Regions from separate parts of the Homo sapiens genome. Here regions 1 and 2 are each linked to region 3. The links are contacts of gene promoters, found by promoter capture Hi-C in human tissues and cell types (Jung and others, 2019). All regions are on one chromosome and are shown on one strand. Each heading gives the region's core, a stretch centred on a gene start or on the middle of the fragment in contact. The rest is flanking DNA. Distances are from core to core; before and after follow the strand shown.

Region 1 (4,365 bases), core at 1,758-4,257, 640 kb after region 3:
TGGAGAGGATGTGGAGAAATAGGAACACTTTTACACTGTTGGTGGGACTGTAAACTAGTTCAACCCTTTTGGAAGTCAGTGTGGTGATTCCTCGGGGATCTAGAACTAGAAATACCATTTGACCCAGCCATCCCATTACTGGGTATATACCCAAAGGACTATAAATCATGCTGTTATAAAGACACATGCACACATATGTTTATTGCGGCATTATTCACAATAGCAAAGACTTGGAACCAACCCAAATGTCCAACAATGATAGACTGGATTAAGAAAATGTGGCACATATACACCATGGAATACTATGCAGCCATAAAAAATGATGAGTTCACATCCTTTGTAGGGACATGGATGAAATTGGAAATCATCATTCTCAGTAAACTATCGCAAGAACAAAAAACCAAACACCGCATATTCTCACTCATCGGTGGGAATTGAACAATGAGAACACATGGACACAGGAAGGGGAACATCACACTCTGGGGACTGTTGTGGGGTGGGGGGAGGGGGGAGGGATAGCATTGGGAGATATACCTAATGCTAGATGACAAGTTAGTGGGTGCAGTGCACCAGCATGGCACATGTATACATATGTAACTAACCTGCACATTGTGCACATGTACCCTAAAACTTAAAGTATAATAATAATAAATTTAAAAAAAAAAAGACAATAACAACTGTTGGCAAGAATGTGGAGAAATTGGAAAACTTATGTGCCATTGGTGGGAATTTGAAATGGTGCAGCTGCTATGGAAAACAGTATGGTGGTTCCTCAAAAAATTGAAAGTAGGATTACCATAAGATCCAGCAATTTCATCTAAGTATATACCCAAAAGATTTAACAGAAGGCACTCAAACAGATATTTATACACCCATGTTCATAGCAGCATTATCCACAATAGCCAACATGTGGAAGAAACCCAAGTGTCTATTGACCAACGCACAGATAAACAAAATGTGGTGTATACTCACAATGAAATGTTATTCGGCCTTGATAAAGGAGATTCTGACACATACTATAACATGGATGAACCTGGAAGATATTATGCTAAATTAAATAAGCCAATCACAGAAGGACAATGCTGCATGAGTCCACTAATATGAGATAGCTAGAGTAGTCAAAATCATACAGACAAAGTGGAGTGGTGATTGCCAGGAATGGGGGCCAGGGGGAAGGGGGAGCTGGTGCTTAATGAGGACAGAGTTTCAGTTTCACAAGATGAAAAAAGTTCTGGAAATGGGTGGTGGTGATGGTTGTACAAGAGTGTGAATATACTTTATGCCATTGAACTGCACACCTAAAAGTGATGACATGCTTAAAAATAAAATAAAATAGAGATGGCTACTAAGAGGTTAAGTCACAACCCTGAAGCCAGGAGATATTCTCACTCTAAAGGCCCCAGGTTCATGTTTTAATTTTCAAATACACAAAGGGGACCCTAAGAAACAGGCAACAGGAGGCCGGGCGCAGTGGCTCTTGCCTGTAATCCCAGCACTTTGGGAGGCCGAGGCGGGCAGATCACCTGAGGTCTGGAGTTCGAGACCAGCCTGACCAACATGGAGAAACCCTGTCTCAGCTAAAAATATAAAATTAGCCGGGCTTGGTGGCACATGCCTGTAATCCCTACTCAGGAGGCTGAGGCATAAGAATCACTTGAACCCAGGAGGCAGAGGTTGTGGTGAGCAGAGATCACGCCATTGCATTCCAGCCAGGGCAACAGGAGTGAAGCTCTGTCTCAAAAAAAAAAAGAAAGGAAGAAAAGAAACAGGCAACAGGAATTGACTTGCCCGTAAAGAAGAACATCTTGGCTGGGTGATGACAAGGTGCTCGTCTTAACATGGATAACTGGATGTTTATCGCAGGAATTTCATGCACCTTGGTGCATGCTGGTCCTGCTTGTCTCAAGGCAGGGATTCTCTTGCATAGATGGGATACTCTGTTCCCATCAGCCTCCTGCTTGCTCCGGGACAGGGATTCTCCTGCATAGATGGGATGCTCTGCTCCCATCAGCCTCTCTCAGTTTTACTCACGTTGTGACAGTGTCAAGTTCTCTAGTCCTGACTAAGAAGGGTTTAATTTCTTCTGTTGCTGGTAAAGATGTAGCCAGGGGCTTCTGTCTTGGTCAAAGTATTGCTTAGATCAATTACATAAAGCTATACCTGATCAATCCTGTGTTTATCTCCCTGGTGAAAGAAAACCCTAAGTCAGGCCGGGCGCAGTGGCTTACACCTGTAATCCCAGCACTTTGGGAGGCCGAGGCGGGTGGATCACCTGAAGTCAGGAGTTCGAGACCAGCCTGGCCAATGTAGTGAAACCCCTTCTCTACTAAAAATACAAAAAATTAGCCAGGCATGTTTGGGGGACACCTGTAATCCCAGCTACTTGGGAGGCTGAGGCAGGAGAATCACTTGAACCCAGGAGGCAGAGGTTGCAGTGAGCCAAGATCGTGCCAGTGCCCTCCAGCCTGGATGACAGAGTGAGACGAAAGAAAGAAAGAGAGAGAGAGAGAGGGAGGGAGAGAGGGAGAGAGAAGAAGAAGAAGGAGGAGGAGGAGGAAGAGGAGGAAGAGGAGGAGGAGGAGGGGAGGGAGGAGGAGGGGAGGGAGGAAGGGAGGGAGGGAACACAGAGGAAGCACATGTTTCCTTGTAATTGGTGTCAAGGGGCTCTATTACTTTAAGGAAGCCTCTCCCACATGTCAAGTATTTAACTCTCCTCCACTCTTTACACATAAAACAAACCAAACATTCCCTTAATTACACGTATTTATAATCTAATTATGGTTCTGGGCTCAGACAGTTTTATGGGCAAGTCTTTTTAAGCTTTCAAACAGATAATTTTTATGTTATATAAACTATTCTGCAGCCCACAAACATGGAAACAATCCTAATTAATTTAAGAAGCCACCCTAGCCTTAAGTGTCAAAGCCTGACAAAACTAACATACACATTCAAAAACCCTTTGACCTGTCTCAACTATAGATATTGATCTAACATTCTAAATACAACTCTACACAAATTGATATCAGCTTCATTAGAAAATAATATCCATGAATTAATATCATTTGTCACTTCAGTAGTGGCAAATGAAAACCACAAGTTCATCCCATTAAGATTTGTTAAAATGTGGTACCTGCTCTTTAAAAAAAGGACTTACTAAAATAGGAATGTAATAATACTTTTACAAATAAAAAGTATCTATGTGACCACAAAAGCTAGAAATGTATCTAGTACCTACTAGATACTAGCCATATCTACATATTTCTCTAAATGTATCCCAAATAATTTTAGTTCTGAAGGATTTTATAAGTGTCACGTAAAAAAATGATGCTATGATAAAATAAATTTGAGAAATAATTAACCAAATTAAACAAGATTTCATATATGTATTCTAACTCCCCAAGTGCTTCATACCCATTTGACCTATATCACATTGTTTCCACAGAGCATCTCCCCAGACTGGCATTTTATAGAAATTTGCTTTGGAATATGTTACAGGGATGGTCTCCCAACAATGTGGAAAACCAAATAATGATGCTGCTGGCTCCACTTTGACACTGTCCTAAAATTTCAGATCCAGTCATTCTCAGCTAATAGGCTGGTATGGCTTGATATAACAAGTAGATGAATAATCACTGTGGACATTAGGATATTTCAAGAACTCCATCAACCAACTTGGCCTACCGACATTTATAGAACCCTCCATTCCCTCTCAGCAGAATACTCATTTTTCTCAAGTGCATTTGGAACATTTTTCAAGATGGATCATATTTAGGCTCATAAAATATGTCTCCATAAATTTAAGGTTATTTAAGTTCACACCATGTAAGTTCTCTAACTACAATGACTTTAAGTTAGAAGTCAGTAACAGAAAAATCTCTGGATCATTCCCAAATACTTCGAAGCTTAATAGCATATTCCTCAATAACTCATGGGTAAAAAGAAAATGAATACGGTAACTTCAGTGAAACTTATAGCACTAAATGCCTTCATTGGAAAAGAAAAAATACATCAGATTCCACTTCAGAAAACTAGAAAAAGGAGAGCAAATTAAATTCGTCCTAAATAGAAGAAAAGAAATTATGAAAATCAGAGTGAAGTATCAATTAAATGCAAAACAGTAAAACAATAGAGAAAATCAACTAAACTATTAGCTAGTTTTTTCAGATCAATGAAATTGATAAACTAACCATTGTGATAAGGAGAAAAAGGGAGATGATGCAAATTACTAACATTGGGAAAGAGAGGATGACATCACTGAAAATTCTATTAATATTAAGAAGATAATAAGGAAATATGATTAACAATTCTATGCCAATAAATTCAACAACTCAGACGAAATGGACAAATTCCATGGAAGACACAAAC
Region 2 (4,645 bases), core at 1,987-4,486, 610 kb after region 3:
TCCAGATTTTTTTTTGCATAAATGAATAATTAAATAGGCAAAAATGAAATCATATTATCAATATTCTCCCATAGGCTTTATCTTTTTTTGTAACTATGTACTGTGAGAATTTTTCCAGTTAGTAAACATTCTACATTATTTTGGCTATATTGATTTCCATTTATGTATACCATAAGGGATTATAGCAGTTTCCCATTTTTTGATATTTAGGTTGGTCCCGACTTCTGCTGAATGAATAGCACTATTAGAACATTCTTTCAGTTATATCTTTTTCAAACATGAGTGTTTCTTTGTTTAGGATAAGCTCCTAAATGCAAAATCGTTTGATACAGTCATATGCATCATTAAGGCTTTTCATATTTATTGCCAAATTTTCCCCCAGAAACATCTGTTTCCACTCCTTTCAGTCTGCTCCCTTGTGGCACTGAGTGTTATCATTCTATAAAATTGATGCTAACTCTATAGGCAAAAGATACCTCATTATTATTAGTTTTAATTTGCATTTTACTACTAATGAGCTTAAATGTATTTTAATATGTTTCTTAGCCGTCTAGAATTCCTTCTTATATTTTACTGAAAGGTATTTATTTTTAAGTTAATTAACATATTAAAAGAAATGCTGGTCAGGGATCTATTTTTATTTTTTTTAAAGACATAAATTTCCAAATCTATAGGGCCTCATATTCACTAACATAACTAATTCAAGTGAATAAAACAGAGGATAATAATTAATCTTACTTTAAGTTTTTAATTTGCAATTCTGTTAGTGGCTATCTGCTGGGGGAAAAAAAAAGCATAGCACCTATTAAGCATCAGAATCCCAGCTGGAACTGTTTCAAATAAGGTTGTTATATTGCACAATTGAGTAGGAAAAAATGAATTTACAGGAAGATAATAAAAACAAAAGTAGGAAGGCTACTTCTATATGCTAACCTTTCCATTTCACCTATACCATGGTGAGGTTATGCTATTTTTTTTTTTTTTTTTAGATACAGGGTCTCACTATGTTGCCCAGACTGGTCTTGAACTCCTGACCTCAAGCAATCCTCCTGCCTCAGCCTCCCAAGCACCTTAGGTTCCCAAAGTGCTAGAATTACAGGTTTGAGCCACCATGCCCTGACTGTACTTTGATTTTAATGAACTATGTTTGCTATTAATAGCTGGCATGGATTCCTTGAAGTAACTGAGCCATCACCCAAAATGTGGCAGAATGATAAATCCTTCATTTTACTTACTTAGAAACTCACCATCCTGCTACTAATAGGCTTACAGCCAATTTTTAAAGCATTAGGGAGAGAACGGGAGAAGTTCACCAGTAAATAAGGCACCTCAATACACCTCTGAAGGACAGGATACAAATGGAGGGGTGTGGCCAGTGAAGGAAAGCTGAGCATGCGTGGCTTTGAACCCAACCTTGGAAGCCACAGACCTACCCAGCAGACTGGGCTCAGAGTGCAGGGAAAGCAGAAAAGGTAGGCCAGGAGACAGGGCGTTAATGGAAGGTCTGTGTATGCCCAAGTTCACCACCCCACCACAAAGCAGCAGAGAAACTAGATGTCTACAGTCTCCTCTCACACATACATGACAGGGAAAGGCAAAAGAAAAAAAAGAAAAACATCAACTAGGGGACACAAGTTACCTTGCCTACAGCCTTGTAAGGACAATGACAAAGTTTGAGGGCACTTATGTGATGACTGTCCCCCTGCCCTCTCACCCAGTTAGCAGGCCACGTCCTCTCCCACCAAGATCCAGGTCAGTCTTTCTATTGCCTCATATTTAAATATGAACAAGCAATCAGAGTTTACCAGACAACTAAAGAAAGCCTACAACATCAAAAAGAGAGACTATTGCTGCAATAGTATAGTATGTTCCAAATGTACTAGTTGCAAGATTTCAGGAGACTGGGTTGCCAACAAGCTCAACAGAACCAAAGCACATAACTCCCCCAAATCCGATTGGTGATATCTCCTTTATTTCACCTGCTATGAACTACTGAGAACAACTGCAAGTTTGTTTGCAAATTTCCAAAGAACAGCTGGTGTTGCTCCCCTAAAGATGCACAGAGAGCCAAGATATCAGTTTCAATATGCACTGCCTGCTTATAAATAAAGTCAGCCCCATTAGAGATTTCTGCCAGTGTCTGTGAATACTCCACCTAGAGGGCATTTGAGTTTGCTACACACTTAAATACATTTCATCAGCTATAGTCACTTTTTGCTTCTTACAAAAACTTTAAGAGCTAGATTCACATTGCAGAGCTGCTGCTCAGGCTTTCAAGATTGAGAAAAAAAACTAAATGCTGTTATTCAGAAACCAATAGCAGACAACAAGAGAAATATTGGGGTGTACCTGTGTTGTTTCTTGCTGTCACTGGTACTGAAGCCGATGCATGATCAAAGCTTCATTTCCCTGCTTAAGTGCTGCTACCATTTTATTCACAGGAAATACACATGTAGGAGATGCTGGTGAGGATTCCTTCAAGTTTTGGGGAGAACTAAGCCACCCCATGTGATTAAATTCATATCCTAGGTATTGAAAATGATGGATGGATATTTCTTCTTTTTCTTTCTTTCTTTTTTTTTTTTTTTTGGAGACTGAGTCTTGCTCTGTCGCCCAGGCCGGAGTGCAGTGAGTGGCGTGATCTTGGCTCACTGCAAGCTCCGCCTTCCGGGTTCACGCCATTCTCCTGCCTCAGCCTCCCAAGTAGCTGGGACTACAGGTGCCCACCACCACACCCGGCTAATTTTTTTTGAGGCCTATTATTTTTTTAGAAAAGCCAGGAAATGTCATTCTATTGACTCTTCTGATTCCTTTTTCTTCCTCCAGTTCAGGACTTTCAAGGCTGCTGTACTTTGCTTTCAAAAATAGAACTTGAAACAAGTAGCTGTTGTGATTCGTTGACATGCTATAGATAACCATTCCAAACAAACTCTTGTAGTTTAGGGCTAGACATTTTGAAGATTTCTGTCAGTACTCACTACAGCAATCGCTAAATTGCTTTCAATTGAATCATGAATACTTCGTTAAGGCCAGTGCAAATCTCACAGTCAAAACGTTAATTTGCTTACAGGAAGTGGACCTGAAGCTATTTGAAAGAATTCTCAGAAAGAAGAATCAAAAGACACAGTCTCCAGTGTCCTAGTTCTAATCTTAGGAAGTGAAAGCACAGCTTCAATGCCTCATGCCACCTAAACCAGGAACAAAGGCAATTCACAAGCAACTCGGGAGGCTGAGGCGAGCAGATCATGGGGTCAGGAGCTCGAGACCAGCCCGGCCAACATGGTGAAACCTCGTCTCTACTAAAAATAAAAAATAAAAAATAAAAAAAATAGCTGGGCATGGTGGCGGGTGCCTGTAATCTCAGATACTGGGAAGGCTGAGTCAGGAGAATCATTTGAACCCAGGAGGTGGAGGTTGCAGTGAGCCAAGATCGCACCATCGCACTCCAGCCTGGAGGACAGGGCGAGATTCATCTCAAAAAAAAAAAAAAAAAAAAGAATATTGGATAGTGACCACATTTTTAAGAAGTGAAATTGGAGTAAGTAGTGAGGGGCAGGAATCAACAAGCATAAAACTTGGCTAAATTTCAACCCTGGCCTTACAGCATTGACAGAGGAAGGTTGCTGACACTGTTATCAATGTTTAGTACCGGAATCTCTTGTGCTTTCAACTGGTTCTCACAGACAGGTCATAGGATTCACCCCAGAGAGACTCTATGAACATAGAGGAAAGCCACCCGAGAGCAAATGTGGCCCAGTCTGTATCATTAAATCTAATCAGCCCTTACCAAGCTGAGAGAGCGTAGAGAGAAACTCTGAACTCTCCTCCAACAGTTAATATTTATTAATGAGCCCCCAACTCCAGTTCTCACAAACTAAGTGCTGTCAGAGGTGTAAGTGTCAGTAAAGCAGACAAAAATTACTATAATATTTTGTTGCACTTCAGCCATAAGCATAGTCACCAAGCACAGACACTTCCAAACGTTGATTTCACAGAGCTTCAAGTTGAAAGGAATCCATTTCAGGTGTCCCATGGAGGTGTACTTTCTATGAGGAAGGCAGGGGCTTTTGGCTGAAGAAATGGAGGAGTTTGTTGGTGCACTCCAACTTGAACGCATCCCTGACTTCCACAAATATGCACAGAAGCTTCTAAATATTTATCTGGATTTCTAGAACTGGAATTTAAGTTCTACTTGAAAGTCCTAGCGATCCACAGAAGCAAGCAATCCAATAGTAGCCGTTTGATTTTTTTAATATCAAAATAATAATAGTTAGCAAACAAACTCATTGTACTTAAAAGCTGGCTACAGTGAGCATTCAGAGGAGCTTCTAAATGGGATCTCATGCCATCAAAAACTAGAAGCAAAGCTCTGAACCCTTTGCAGTCCTCCCTAAAGTGTCAAGGAATCCACACCATCAATTCCTTGTATTTTCACATACTGCCAAAAAATGTCACAAGACTATGAATTTTCTAGCAGGGGAAAGAAAAGGCCTCCTGTAGCATTGAAAATGTCTTCTTGAGACTCCATTAAGCAAAGACCAACACTCACTGTGTTTCCTGTGAACACACCTGTGTTAATCATACGGTTTGTTGAGTGAAATGGAGTTAGCTGACATATAACTACATTTTCCTAACTGTATCACTT
Region 3 (5,121 bases), core at 259-2,758:
AAAGAGTAATATTTTAAGGTTTCAAGACTGGCTTTAGGAAAAAGGGGTTCTGGTTTCTATGACCTGCCTTGGGGAAAAGGAATTCTAATTTCTATGGCTATCCTTGGGGGACTGAGAGATAGGAGGGCAGAGAAAAATTTCTGCTTTTGAGGCCATTTTGGGGTATTGTTTTCTGAGTTTCAACACTAACAAGTTTGCATGCCAAAATTTCATGAATACTGCTAAAAGATGAAACTCCTGGGTCAGAGACAAAGGATAATACTAACAGCAATAATAGTAGTCACAGTATTGTCATTGGGCCAGTTTCTGAGCCCTAATTCTTGCAAGACTATGTGATGAAGGCTACAGTAGGTTGCATTACAGGAGAGGGGCCCCAAGTTTAGGAAACTCACATCTCTTATAATTGGGAATAAGTCTGCCAGATCTTTGGAGAGACAAGAATTCTGTCTTCCAGGGCTATTCAATGCAGAAACATCCTTGAAAAGATAGTTGGAAAAAGGCAGTCAGTGCCTCTGCTCTCTCAAGACATGCAGGAACATGACACATGTGAATTGTCTCCCAATAGAAAAGGAATGAAAGTGCATCGTGTGAAAAGTATTCTGCATCTGGAGGCTGTAAAGTGATCAAACTGAAGCAGGAATGAAGATCTGAAGGAACCATCCAGGCCTACTGTACCTGGCAAGAATTGAGCATGAACTCTAGTTATCTCAGCTAAACTTTGCAGAAGTCCTCAATTTCACTGTTTTAATGGGCACTTGCCCATTAAAACAGTGGTTGTCATGAGCACTTTCCACATTTATTTCACTTTATCCTCACACTTCATGGAAACAGAGCTATTACAGCCATTGTACTCATGAGTAAATGGACTTTGAAACATGATGACCTGTTCACTTTTTCAACCACAGGACAAGAATCAGGTTTTCTCGGAGCTCTTCTGCCGCCACCCCTCTCTTGTTTCTCCTTACCGCGGCGGGCCAGAAGAAGACTGGCCAAAATAAGTAAACGACTAATGCAAGAGTGGCATAGGTCCTCAAAAAGGCGCTGCAAACTTAAGTGGTGATTGCACTCACGGTGCTTTAAGACCCAGCCACTACTTCGGAAGCAGGAAGTTGGCATCTCTGGTTTCTCCCATCCGCGGGCCTGAGGTTCCCGGGGATTGGTTAAGGTAGAGGCTCCTTTTCCCATTTGCAGCCGGAAGTAGGTTTCCAGTAACACGGAAGCCCTACTACGCCGCCTGGGAGACCCTTCCGTGCTACCCCGGCCAGGGACCCGCCCGGACCTGAGGAGGCGGGAACTGCGGGCAGAAGGCCCACCCCGCTCTCCCAAGATTTCCCGCGCACACCGGAAGTGGGTGGGGCTCCTCCGAGCGCCCCCTCCCTCCCCCTCGCCATCCCCCCCGCACGATTGGCCAGCGCCGCTGTCTCTCAGCGTTCCAGGGGAAGGGACTGGGCGATTCCCAGCACTCGGGTCGCGGGCGTTGGCAGCCGGGCGGGTGGGAGGGGCCGGAGCAAAAGTTCCGGGCGCCCGAGCCGGCTGCTCGTGCCATGGAGCGGAGTCCCGACGTGTCCCCCGGGCCTTCCCGCTCCTTCAAGGAGGAGTTGCTCTGCGCCGTCTGCTACGACCCCTTCCGCGACGCAGTCACTCTGCGCTGCGGCCACAACTTCTGCCGCGGGTGCGTGAGCCGCTGCTGGGAGGTGCAGGTGTCGCCCACCTGCCCAGTGTGCAAAGACCGCGCGTCACCCGCCGACCTGCGCACCAACCACACCCTCAACAACCTGGTGGAGAAGCTGCTGCGCGAGGAGGCCGAGGGCGCGCGCTGGACCAGCTACCGCTTCTCGCGTGTCTGCCGCCTGCACCGCGGACAGCTCAGCCTCTTCTGCCTCGAGGACAAGGAGCTGCTGTGCTGCTCCTGCCAGGCCGACCCCCGACACCAGGGGCACCGCGTGCAGCCGGTGAAGGACACTGCCCACGACTTTCGGGTAAGAGCAGCGATTTGCACGAGGCGGCCGAGCCGGGTCTGGAACCCGGAATCCCTTGGCTCTGCGGCTCCCGCCCCTCCTGCCTGCCAGAGCCCAGTGTGCCCGCGTCTCGCTCCCAGCATGCAGGACCCCACCTCTCCGACCCAGGTTCTCAGGGCTGGCTGCTTCTTCAAGGTCGGCCCAGGGGCCCGTGCTGGGAGAAGAGAATGCGAACGGAAAGTGACAGATGAGGTTACATGATGTTCCCAAGACAGCGACACTTGCTTCTGAAGGGCCCAGGCCATGCACCCCTTGTGCCAGCCGGGTGTGGCCCAGGTCCCTTTAAGCGGCACGGATGTGGGTGCAGCCCACGAGCCCTGTAGCTTGGCACACTCAATTTAGAAGTGGAGGAGGAGCCACAGACCTGGCCAGGGGTGTGGAGTCTTAAGATTTCCCCCAAACCAGTCACCTACTTGCCAAGCTGATCCCGCGGTTTGTATTATCTGAGTGAGAGGTCTCTGACCCTGGCTGGCTGGCCTATTCTGGTTTATAAAGCAGCATCTCCATATCTAGAGTTCTAGTGACTATACATAAACCCAGGAGCAACTTACAGGGCAAAACTAACATGGAGAATTCTTTGATATAGGAAGGAAAAATGAATAGAAGATAAGGGTTAGCCTAACTCAGCATTTTCCAAAACGTTTAATCTTAGCCCATAGGAAGCAATGCATTTTCCCTTGTGACCCAGAACATATGTATCAGTTGAAACAAAAGTTTTCTGAACATGTCCATGGCACTCTGATATTTTCTGTTACTTCCCTTTGTTTTTTTTTTTTTTTGAGACCTCTATCGCCCAGGTTAGAGTGCAGTGGCGTGCTCTTAGCTCACTGCAACCTCCGCCTCCTGGGTTCAAGCGATTCTGGTGCCTCAGCCTCCCGAGTAGCTGAGATTACAGGCATGTACCAACACGCCTGGCTAATTTTTTTTTTTTTTTAATTTCTAGTAGAGGCAGGGTTTCACCATGTTGGCCAGGCTGGTCTGGAACTCCTGGCCTCAAGTGATCTGCCCTCCTCTGCCTCCCAAACTACTGGGATTACAGGCGTGAGCCACTCCGCCTGGCCTCTGTTACTTTTAAAAATTACCCAGAATGTGAAACATTGAATTTATTTCATCACCTGCTAATGCATGAGTCAGAGCCCCAATTGGGAGAACACTGGGTAGCTGGCCCGAAGCTGCATGGACTGGAGAGGAGGAGCTGCCCGAGTCCCCTGTGCCTGGTTTCTGGCCCCCTCTGTGGCCCTGCCTTCTTTTTTTGCAATACCTTTTTAAATACGGAAGTCTGTTCCGCTCCAAATGCATTTGACAAAGTTTAATTGAAGGGGAATGTAAGGATGCTGTCAGTACGCATGTCTCAATGAGTAACCCTGTTACTCCTGTCATCTTTTTTGTTTAACATGGGTCCATGTCAATGCTTTTCCTGTTTCCACTGGCAGAAGTGACAGATCCTGATTTGGGACAGCTGGAATAAGTGCTGGCCAGCCAGGGGTCTGGGGCCCAGGTAAAGGAGGGATCATGGTTCAGGTCATGACTGATGCCTATTTGGCTGGCCGAGGTGCTGATCAGGAGATGCTGGGGTCAGGGCTGAGAACACCCAGGCAGAGCCCCCAGGCTGGGGCCAAGCCAGGATTCAAGAGCAGAGAGCCATGCACCAGCAGATGCCTGGTACTGCAAGGTCCCAGGGATACTGCAGGAGACAAGATAGACCATTTCCAGCCTCAAGGAGCTTCCAGCAGAGACCCGAGGGAAGAGGAGGTGTTAGCCAGGTGAAAGAGGGTATTTCAGATAGAGGCAGCAGCATTTGGAAGGGTCCAGAAGTGGGAAAGCCTGACTTTCTAGGCACTGAGGGAATTTAAGGGTAGTTAGAATGAGGAGGGACGTGCAGGAGGATCCAGGAGGCCGGTGGCTCACCCTTGCTGTGAACAGCAGCTGGGGGTTTTAGCAGAAGAATGATGGTGTCAAGTCAGTGGACACTCAGGATGATGTCAGGGGCTGAGTAGTCTAGTCCCAAATGGATCTGAGAAGAATGAGAGCCAGGTGTGGTCAGCCTGATGCAGGGTGCAAATCACTCATTTACTAGACAAATGGGTACTGATGGCTGTTGTGTGCTGTGGCCTCTTCTTAGCTTCATGGAATTCTCATTTGAGCAGGGGGCATAGACAGTCAATAGACAAGATGTAGTTCTGTGTGATTCAAGGTAGGTGGTTGTGGGGGAGCGGTATGGGAAGATTCCCTCCACCACTTGGTAAGAAGGGACTGGGTAAGAAGCTGTGTGCCTCACTGAGGGGGTTTTCCGTTTTGTGCTGTGGGGAGCTCTGAAAGATTCTAAACAGGGGAGTTTGTGATGGGATGTGTGTTTTAGAGAAAGATTACTTTGCCAACTATCTATGTGAGGAACAGCAAAGTCAAAATCATCCCAGCTAACACATTTCAGTGCTCACTGTGTGCTAGATGCTTTTCAGTGTTCACACGTCAACAAATTTAATGCTCACAAAAACGTATTTTCAGGTCCTGTGTTTCCTGTTACTGCGTAATAAATGTGGTGGTTTAAAATAGCACAAGTTTGTTCTCTTATGGTTCTGGAGGTTGGAAGTCCTAAAATCGAGGTGTCTGCAGGGCTACATTCCTTTTGGAGGCTCCAGGGAGAATTTATTTCCTTGCCTTCTCCAGCTTGCAGAGGCCCCTTCTTCCAGCTCTGAAGTGTGTCATTCCGTTCTGCATCTGTTGTCACTTTGACTTCTTTGACCAGTTCTACTACCTCCCTCTCATAAGGACCCTGTGATGACATTGGGCCCACCCAGGTAATCCAGGATAACCTCCCCACAGCAAGATCCTTAATTTAATCATCTGCACAGTCCCTTTTGCCATACAAGATTCTGGGGATTAGAATGGGGACATCTTTTCGGGGAAATAATTATTCAGCTTGCTACAGTTAGGTGCTATTATCCCCATTTTATAGACAATTATAGAATCATAGAGAGGGTAAGAAACTTGTCCAAAGTCACAGAGCAAGTAGCTCTAAAGATCACCTGGAGCCTTGTTCAGTTCACACACTGGTCCTGGACTTTGAGAGAGGTTTCTCTCATCTCAGACTTCAGCGGGCAGC

Evidence for each region. Contacts are between HindIII fragments. The study calls those that stand out against the background at their distance.
Region 1: a contact is called between a fragment that was not itself captured here and the fragment with the promoter of TRIM35 in region 3, in 2 of the 25 tissues and cell types used here (dorsolateral prefrontal cortex and lymphoblastoid cells).
Region 2: a fragment that was not itself captured here is called in contact with the fragment with the promoter of TRIM35 in region 3 in 1 of the 25 tissues and cell types used here (lymphoblastoid cells).

Annotation. Positions count from the first base shown.
Region 1 is chr8:26,672,142-26,676,506 of GRCh38, reverse strand. No RefSeq gene overlaps it. Among named protein-coding and RNA genes, the nearest start is that of DPYSL2, 160 kb to the right of the region's middle. The HindIII fragment of the contact is 4,501 bases long and covers 757-4,365 here.
Region 2 is chr8:26,698,818-26,703,462 of GRCh38, reverse strand. No RefSeq gene overlaps it. Among named protein-coding and RNA genes, the nearest start is that of ADRA1A, 170 kb to the left of the region's middle. The HindIII fragment of the contact is 4,697 bases long and covers 888-4,645 here.
Region 3 is chr8:27,307,659-27,312,779 of GRCh38, reverse strand. It overlaps TRIM35 (tripartite motif containing 35), which reads left to right and starts at 1,508. Exons shown (of 6, transcript NM_171982.5): 1 at 1,508-1,979. The coding sequence starts at 1,545. It also overlaps a transcript of PTK2B not described here. RefSeq lists a silencer at 1,290-1,499 and enhancers at 1,650-1,799, 1,810-2,029, 2,430-2,539. The HindIII fragment of the contact is 16,679 bases long and covers 1-5,121 here.